2 separate regions of the Homo sapiens genome follow, and region 1 is linked to region 2. Evidence: promoter capture Hi-C in human tissues and cell types (Jung and others, 2019). All regions are on one chromosome and are shown on one strand. The core of a region is centred on a gene start or on the middle of the fragment in contact, and the rest is flanking DNA. Distances in the headings are between cores, read along the strand shown.

Evidence for each region. The method cuts DNA at HindIII sites, captures the fragments that hold promoters and counts their contacts. A contact is called where the count stands out against the background at its distance.
Region 1: a fragment that was not itself captured here is called in contact with the fragment with the promoter of GRIN2B in region 2 in 1 of the 25 tissues and cell types used here (mesendoderm cells).

Annotation. Positions count from the first base shown.
Region 1 is chr12:13,249,948-13,254,864 of GRCh38, reverse strand. No RefSeq gene overlaps it. Among named protein-coding and RNA genes, the nearest start is that of EMP1, 56 kb to the right of the region's middle. The HindIII fragment of the contact is 3,421 bases long and covers 381-3,801 here.
Region 2 is chr12:13,978,159-13,983,125 of GRCh38, reverse strand. GRIN2B (glutamate ionotropic receptor NMDA type subunit 2B) reads left to right here and starts at 1,524. Exons shown (of 14, transcript NM_000834.5): 1 at 1,524-1,784; 2 at 2,770-3,198. The HindIII fragment of the contact is 12,156 bases long and covers 1-4,967 here.

The sequences.
Region 1 (4,917 bases), core at 842-3,341, 730 kb after region 2:
ATCTGTGAAAATAAACGAACCATTCTAACTCCACAGCTCTGTTAAATTAAGTTTGGCCTAAAGCTGTCTCTGTACATATTTTAAGTTTGGCCTAAATTTGCCTTTGACTTGTGTGGCAGCCCCTTGCTAATTGCCTGAACTTGGGCATGATTCTTACATTCTGAAAGCTTGTTTTCTTTTAAAATCAATCATGTGAAAGCAACAATAATAATTACAAAAGGAGCCATTCTTTGTACATAATGAACTGTAACCTAACTTGATGTGCATACGTAAACACACTGTAACCTACTCTTGTAAGAGGTAACTAAGTCTCAGCCAACCACAGGCAGCCAACTGTTCAAAGCAGGTTCAAATAAGGCAAATGCCCAGCTGTAGCCAATCCAGCTGTTTCTGTCCTCACTTCCGTTGTATGGCACTTTCCTTTTTCTGTGAATACCGGGAGTCGCTCTGAACCTATTCTGGTTCTGAGAGCTGCCCAATTCACGAATCTTTCTTTGCCCAATTAAACTCTGTTAAATTTGTCTAAAGTGTTTCTTTCCACAGCTCCTTCTGGTCCTCGACTTTTCTATCCATCCACCTAGCCATCCATAAGCTTTATCCTAATCCTAAACATGTGAGTTAAGCAGATGAATGAATATATAGATGTGGAAGAGAAACAGAAATAGAGAGAGATAGAGAAACATTGTGCGCATACAGAGAGAGAAACAGAGAGCATGTGTGTGTATCTATATATAGAGAGAGACAGAACATGTGAAGCAAGGGACAGGCAGCAAATGAGGAGATTTTGATTCAGGATTCTTAACCTTGAGTGTGTGGGGTCCATGAACATCTTAGGATTATATGCAAAGTGTCACATTTATATGCATTTTTCTGGGGAAAGAGTCCTTAGCTATCTTCAGATCCTCAAAAGTGCCTGTGTTCCTGACAAGATTAAGAATCACTGATTTCAATAAAGTATAAAATAGTGCACACACCAGTTATCTTCTCCTTCTTTCGTGTGGGACCACTGCCTACACAATCTATGTTCTTCCTTTTGGTCAAAAAGTGAAAGAAGACAAATAAGAAGGCCAGGTCATCAAGAGACATTAAGAGTATCTTTGGAACTCACTGACACGTTCTTTGTTACTTTCAATAGTTAATGCACGATATACTAGATGTTAACTCAAACATGGTCAAGGGGACCAGGCACGGTGGCTCATGCCTGTAATCTCAGCACTTCAGGAGTCCAAGGCGGGAGGATCACTTGAGGTCAGGAGTTCCAGAACAGCCTGACCAACATGGTGAAACCCTGTTTCTATTAAAAATACAAAAATTAGCCAGGTGTCATGGTGGGCACCTGTAATCCCAGCTGCTCAGGAGGCTGAGGCATGAGAATCATTTGAACCCGGTAGGTGGAGGTTGCAGTGAGATGAGATCACACCACTGCACTCCAGCCTTGGCAACAGAGCAAGACCCTGTCTCAAAAATAAAAACAAACATGGTTAAGGGAAGAGGATCAACTTTTACTAAGGACCCACTATATGATAGGCACTTAATTTTTCTAACAACACTGTGCTATAGGTATTATTATTGTTGTTCTCATATGATTGATTTTAAAAGAAAACAAGCTTTTGGAATGTAAGCATCATGCCCAAGTTCAGGTATTTAGCAAGAGGCTGACTTGGCAAATCATTTCATGGTCTGTCATAATGAATATGGGTATGTGTGTACATGTGTTCTTGGGACAGAGTGACCAGGTAGATCCGCTAGCTCTGTTGCATCTCCGAAGCAACAAATATTTGTCGGGGGGTGGAGAGGAGAAGAAGCTCATTATTTGGAGATCAAATAACTCAATGCTGCTATTATTTCTAGCTCCTGATTCCCCTCCATTAATTTATCACCTTCTTCTATGAATTGCATTGAACAACTCTGTATGCTAGGCATTGGGTAGAGTCTAGAATATCATCTTGCAATATTGTCTCCAGTAGACCCATGGTCCATGCCATTGGAAGCTCACTGTCTAGGAGAGACCACAGGCATGTGAGTAAATCATTACAGTACTGTGGGACAGGGATTCAAATATAAGAATGTCCTGAGGCCGAGCGGTGGAATGAAGAAGCAGCTTGATGTTGCCAAGATGTTTCAACTGAACCTTAAAGAATGGGGAGAAATTCCCAGCAAACAATAGGTGATGGTTAATTTTATGTGTCAGTGTGGCTGGGCCACAGTGCCCAGATATTCGGTCAAACAATCTTCTGGATGTTTCTGTAAGGGTGTTTTCAGATGAGATTGACATTTAAATAGATGGACTTTGAGTAAAGCAAATTGCCCTCCTTAATGTGGGTGGGCCTCACTCAATTATCTGAATAGAGCAAAAGACTGATCTCCCTGAGCCGGAAGGAATCCTGCCAGCAGATGGCCTTCAGAAATGAACTGCAACATTGGCTCTGCCCTGGGTGTCCAGCCTGCTGGCCCATCCTGCAGATTTTGGACTTGACATAATTGCATGAACCTATTCCTTAAAATAAATCTATTTCTGGATATATACATATCCCATTGGTCTGTTTTCCTGGAGAACCCTGACTAATACATAGTGAAAGTAGGACTCTTCTAGGCAGAGGGAACAGCATGTACAAAGGCACAGAGACTCCAGAAACAATGATTCAGTTGAATCATAGTCCAGTCAGTTTATTGAATCTTGCTCTGGTGCCTGGTCTTATTGCCTGGCCTGATCACTCTATGCTTGCTCCCATAAATAGATCCTAGGAATATGATCTTTCTAGTCTGTTTGACCACCCCAGTGGTTTTGAAAATGCATAAACTGCTTATAGTTCCCTAAAGTAATGAGTCTCCAGGACCAGTAGTAACAGTTATCAGTTGGAAGATGCACAAGTTTTATCTGTCACCATGGCCGAGGTGTGCACAACTGCTACTGTTAGAAAACAACATAGGCTCCCGGACAACATATTGTTTTTTGCCACAATTTTATCATCAGTACCCCAGGGGATAATCTGTGTCAGTTAAGGTTCTCCAGAAAAATGGAACCAACAGGATAGGTGTGGGGAGATAGAGAGAGAGAGAGATTTTAAGAAATTGGCTCACGTGATTGTGGAAGCTTGGAAAGTCCAAAGTCTGCAGAGTAGGCCAGCAGACTGGAAACCAGGAAGAGTTGGAGTTCAAGTCCAAAGGCAATCTGCTGGCTGGGCGCAGTGGCTCATGCTTGTAATCCCAGCACTTTGGGAGGCGGGCAGATCACTTGAGGCCAGGAGTTCAAGACCAGCCTGGCCAACATAGTGAAACCCCATATCTACTAAAAATACAAAAATCCAGGCTGGCACGGTGGTGCATGCCCGTAACCCCAGCTACTCAGGTGTTCTGCATCATGCCTGTTCCCATTTGGTGTGCAGTCCATTTGTACAGAATTTTAACCATTGGTTTGTTCATTCATTTTTTTCATCCCATTCAAAGCAACTGTGTGACAGTGTATCCTTTTTATTTATTTTGCAGAATAACAAACTGTATGTTTTAGACCAAAGGATTTAGCTGGAAGAAGGAGGGAGGAGCGAGGCTTGGGGAGGTATGTATTCTGTCACTGACTTTGTATGGTGACCACTTATCATGTGCAAGTTGGAACGCAATGCCCAGTTTGAAGCTCATTATTTCTGATAGACCGCCTCTGAACTCTTGTAGCGGGAAATGGAGTTGCCTCTCAACATCCATTCTGACCTGTCCGCTATTCCTGCTGTGTAACAGCCCAGGTGTTTAGGTTGAATAGACCCCACTCCTAGTCTAAGGGTAAACCTTAATTGGAACCATTCACAGTGAATGATTCAGTGCCTGGCAACGAATTGAGGCATTAAGTTCATCAGTACATGTTAATCCTTTGGCCATGTGGGTGGGCACAAGATGCTAAAAAAAAAGTGATTGTGGGGAGCCTTCTTCTCCCCAGCCCTAGAAGAAGCATTAGTCTCTATTGCTGCTGGTAATCATTCCTTCCTTCATTCTTCTCTCTAGCCATGTTTTATTGGTGGCCTCTGTTCCAAGCAAAGTTTAGTTCTAAGTGCTGGGGGTACCAAGTCATTGTTATCCTGGATCTTACAATTTAGTGGAAGAGGCAGAAAATAAACAAACATCTAAATACATTATACACTGTGATGGTTACTTTTAGATGTCAACTTGGCTAGATTAAGGAATGCCTGGAGAACTGGTCAAGCATTCCTTCTTGGTGTGTCTGTGAGGGTGTTTCCAGAGATTAGCAGGTGAGTCAGTGGACTGAGGAGGGAAGACCTGCTCAGTGTGGGCAGACACCATCCAGTCAGCTGGAGGCCAGGATAGGACAAAGAATGAGAGAAAGGATTTCCTCTCTGTCTCTCCTGGAGCTGGGACACTCTCTTCCTCCTGCCTGAAGACAGCACAGCGCCAGACTCTTCAGCACTGGGACTCCATGACTTACACTAGCAGTCACCCAGGTTCTCAGGCCTTCAGCCTCAGACTGAGAGTGACATCACTGGCTTCCCTGGTTCTGAAGCTTTGGGACTTGGTTTGAACCATGCTACTGGCACCCCAGGGTCTCCAGCTTGCAGATAGCCTGTTATGACACTTCTAGGCTTCCATAATCACATGAGCCAATTCCCCTCGTAAATAACCTCTCATACCTATCTATCTATCTCCTATAGGTTCTGTGAATGGAAGAATCATGAGGTTCATGAATTTAGAGAGGAGAGCTTTATCTCTCATAAAAAGTGCAGCCTGCAGTTTACAATAGCAAAGACTTGGAGCCAACCCAAATGCCCATCAATGATAGGCTGGATAAAGAAAATGTGGCACATATACACCATGGAATACTATGCAGTCATAAAAAAGAATGAGTTCATATCCTTTGCAGGGACATGGATGTAGCAGGAAGCCATCATTCTCAGCACACTAACACAGGAACAG
Region 2 (4,967 bases), core at 275-2,774:
TATTTGTGTTTTCACACAATGCTTATGTGTTCGTGTGTGTTAAATATGTTAGATTCAAAAATTAAGCCTGAGAAAAACCAGGAAACAGAAGAATTACTGTAGCTCAGAAGTATGAGTAGTCTGGTCTACAGGACAGCAAAAACATATCTGATGGCTTCTACAGACTAAAGTTCCAAGCCACTAGGTATATCCACTCACACAGCCTTCTCTCCTGTGCGTTTGTATGGCCGCTTCTCAGGAATGCTGGTGAGAAGCCCATGATATAACCAATATGAAAATGTTCCACCACTGTAGTATTCTAGATATTTGAAAAGACAATGGATGAGAATGAAAATGATGCATATACAATAATATTAATGTTAAAAGTAAACAATACTACAGGTGGTGATAAGGGCTATTAAAATATAAAAGAGTTCAATAGGAAGAGAAATGAATGGATGTTTGCCTTTTCAAAGAGGGTGGGTTTGTAAATGCCAGGAAATCCAGTTTCCTTTAGGGATTATTCACGGGCCTCACCATCTTCTCTTCTCAAGGCATTTAAATAACAGGATCCACTTTAATAAAAAATGTCAAACTCCTCCCGCCTTCACTAGCAGCCAGAAAAGCACGCGTATGGTCCATACTATACAATTTAGCCACGAATGACACCTGCTTTGCTTTGTTTTCTATTGTGTTAGGCGTCAGCCTCGTGTGCTCAGATAGATCTTAAGCTCCTTGAAGGCAAGAAAGAACCCGGTCCCAGACTGCGTCCGACACACAGAATGCTCGTAGGAAGCACAGGCTGATTTATGGAAAATACAGCAAGGGTCTTCAATTTCGAACTACAGCTCCGCCTTGGAGATGCTTTCCGCAGCCCGCGGGCCGCCCACGGGGGGCACTGTCTAGCTCCCCTCGCCCCTCAGCCGCTCTCCGTCGGTGCTGTTCCCCGCTGCGGCCGGGAGGAGGCGCCACGGACTCGGGCTAAGCTTCTTCCCCCTTCCGTCCCCCTTCCATCCACCTTACCACCCCACTTCCCCAGCACATGACGTGGGAAGCTGCCTCCGCCAGAGTCTTAGCAAGAGGAGTGAGGGGGTGCAGGGGCTTGGGGGTGGGGTGGGGTGGGGGGTGTGGAGAAAGAGGACACGCGCGCTCACACCCGCCCCTGGGAGCAGAAGCAGTATCTTCCCCAGCTTCGTGGGTTTCTCCTCCCCCCGGAGTCAGGGTGTGCGAGGTAGGGGGTGTGTGTGTGTCTGTGTGTGTGTGCGCGGCACGTTTTTGAGTGTGAGACCCAAATCCAGACCAGGCAACCTGCGTTCCCCGCGCCTCCCCCCGTCCCCGGTGATTAATACCCATTTTTCTGACGCTCCCCTCCTCCCCTCCTGCTCTCCCTCTCCGGCTGCCGCGCGGTTGACTTGCACAGCCTGCCCCCGCCCGCTTCCCTTCCCCCGGCTCCGATCCTCACCAACTGGAATCTGGGCTCCTGCCTCTCCACCCCCCACCTCTTTTTGAGAAAGGAAGGTTCCCCCCACCCCCTTTCAAAAACCACTTCCTCCGGCTTCTTCACCTCTAGGAAATCTCGGGGCTTCGCTCTATCGAGAGTGCTCGTCAAGGGTGATTCTTGATCACCACCATCCAGTAGTGCTGGCGTCCGAATGCATATCCTTTTGCCTTGCAAAGAAGAGTCATGAACTTCAAAACCCCCGAGACGGATCATTAATCCTGCTTTGCAGGAAAGGAAAACCCTCCATTCCCAGCCACCGGCCACCCCTCTCCGCAGACTGCAACCGCGGAGGCGCTCGGAGCCGGTACGTAAAGATGGGCTTTGGAGTCTCTCCTTTGAATGTAGGGGTTTGGGGGTGTCAGGCAGATAAAGGGTCGAAGCCGTGAAATCGTGAACGAATCTGGCATGAGGTAAAGCTCTGAAATCCAGCAGAACCCGGCACTTGCTAATTTGGACGTGGCTTTTTTAAAGGTTTTTTTTTTTTGTGGGGGAGGGGGTGCTGTGACTGGGTAGGGCTGTCTCTGGTCTTTTGGGGGGTTTCATCCCTTCACCTAGCAGAGGGGCAGGGCAGCGGCGCCCCGGGCCGGACCCACGCGCCGAGCCCATCCGTCCAATCGACACGTTGCAGGTGAAGCCCCGTGCGCTGCACCTCAGCGCGGCGGCAGCGTGAGTGTGCGCGGGGGTGAGTGTGCGCGGGGGTGAGTGTGAGTGCGCGCGGGGCGCGTGCGCGTCGGGGGCGTGTGTGCGCGCGTCAGTGTGCCCCTTCCAAGAAATGCCCAGTGTGCACCCCGTGCACAATCAGAACCCATTCAGCACAAGCCCGGGGTGGGAGGCGGCGCTGCTGCTGGAGGCGATGGGGAGAGCGAGCGAGACAAGTCAGCAGCAATGCAGATGGGGCTGGGGGCCGCACTCGCTGGCGAGTTAAGTGGGAATTGTGTTTCTGCGTGTGTGTGAGTGTGTGTTGCTGTATGGTGCCGCTTCTCCCCCCCTTCCTCCTTCCTTCCCACTTCCCTCCTTCGCTCGCTCCCTCCCTCTCTCCTCTTCCATTCAGGTTGGCTTTCCCACCTCTCATCCGTGCCTGTCCCAGGAATGGTATAGCCAGACCTTTTCTGAATTATTTATAGACCGGTACCAGCTGTTTTCAATTCCTCTCGTGTGCACTCTGTGGGAAATGCGGGGTTTCCTCCCCCCTTTCCTTAAAACGAATTGATATCTTTTTCGGAATGCATTTTTCTCACCCTCCGGGGGACACGCGAATCAAGCCCTGACCGCCTCTTTTTCCCCCTTAGGAAGGGGACGCTTTGGGAATGACCATGCTCCACCGAGGGACGGAGCCGGCCCCCAGCTTCTCCACACAGAGCCTCCTCCACTAACGCTCCAAAAACCAAAAACCGTAATTGCCAGAAGAAGCGTTAAAAATCTATTCCAGCCACTAACCTCACATGCACACGGAATAATTACTCTGGATTCTGCATTGTGAGCTGCTCTCCATACCCTGAATTACCTTTGAATTAAATCTTTTTTTTTTTGAATTTGCATCTCTTCAAGACACAAGATTAAAACAAAATTTACGCTAAATTGGATTTTAAATTATCTTCCGTTCATTTATCCTTCGTCTTTCTTATGTGGATATGCAAGCGAGAAGAAGGGACTGGACATTCCCAACATGCTCACTCCCTTAATCTGTCCGTCTAGAGGTTTGGCTTCTACAAACCAAGGTAGGGCAAATTCTATTTTATTTTTTCCTCACCTGGGGTAGGGATTCCTCATTTTATCTATCTCTTCGAGTCCCTCAAGTGGATCTTTTTGGAAGAAAAGGTCACAAGATATGAAAATAATGCTGTTTTGGGAAAAAAGGCTTATTACAAAGAAGGAAATCTCCCATGTTTTTTCTTTTTCTTCTCTCATCTAACAGGTTTTGGGCTTTTGGGGGGCAGTGGGGGTGGATGTATGCAGGCACAAAAGATGTTGGATGGCATCAGGGGAATGTATCTATATCTATAGACATAGCCAGCCAGGAGACCTGTGTGATTTTCCAGTTAAATAGCATTTTATTCACCCAGAACTAAAGCTCCGATTTTTATGGGAATCTAGAAATCCTTTTTTTTTTTTTTTTTCAGGTTGGCTTTATTCCCCTTGTCACCTTCATGCCTCTCTCCCTGTCTCCTGTCTTTACCTTTCTAGGCATCCTTTCTATGCCCTTTAAAACAGATAAAAATAATGATTGAGATTACTGTGATTGTTGCCCTGAAATCCACTTGCTGTCTAAAGGGTTGACAAGGGGCCCAGAGATCCCGGGAGGCCTATTGCAGAGGGGTAGGTCTAGGTGGGGATCGGGCTGGTCTCAGAACACCTGGAATTGAAGGATGCTGCAGGTTAAACGACTTAAATCTTAAGCTCGGAAAGGAGGAATTCTGTCAATATTCTGCTTTTAATTTGTATTTTTTCCTGTGCTATTATTTTTGAGCTGTAAATTTCTCCTTCTGTCTACATATCTATTTATACCCACACATCCTCCAAGCAAACTGTTACTTCTACACTCTTGCAAAATGGCTATCTTGCAGAGTTCTAAAATGCTGTGCATGTGGAAGGGGTGCAGAATTCGACACGTGAGTCTTTGTGTTAAACAAAGAGATGTGCTGTTTGCATGTATTAGTCTTGTACCCTCAAAAATGGAATTAATACTTTAACATTTTCCCTTTCATCAATTTTTACAATATGTGAAATGTGATTAGGCAGTATTTTAATGTACTTGAGAAGAGAAATAGCAGGAGAAATGGAAAAGACTTAGCTAATGACTCTTCAGCTAGTCACTCATGCAATCCAAGACAACTCTTGAGAGAATCAGATCATTCATGGGTTGGAGGGCCATGATGGTGAGTGGGCTGCTCCTTTCCTTGCTCCACTGACCATATGTCCCTGAACTCTGAAGGCGTCTAAATGCAGGGATCAGGTTGGGATAAAGATCTCCAAAAACATGTAGCAGAATCATTAGCATCATTATTTTTCCTAAAAGTATTACCACCACCCCAACACACACACAATTTTTTTTTCTGGCATTTTAAAACAACAATTCTTTGATAATCCAAAATACCAAAGGGATGTGGGGAAGAGGTGAAAGATCTTTGTCGCTCAACATGACAGTAGATGATAGTTCTTCATTGTCCAGAAAGGATAGATGTAATCCAAATTCACTATCCCCCTTCTCTAGGTTTCATTCTTTTGAGTTTTACTGCTGAAATGCTACTTTGTAACCATGGTGTAATCAGAGTGAGAGGGTGGGATCCCACTTTGAACCATGTTCTCACCACGTCTACAAATGACTGAGGTTATCTGGTGTGTGCTCACCTTAGAGACACCTGAACTCATTCTCCATCTGCTTCCACTCCAAGTAGGAGGATGAACTCTTAATTTGACTTCAAAATAGAAAAGAGGTATGGGTGAGAAAGGCAGCTCCATGTGCAATGCTTTCATACATACAGATGGA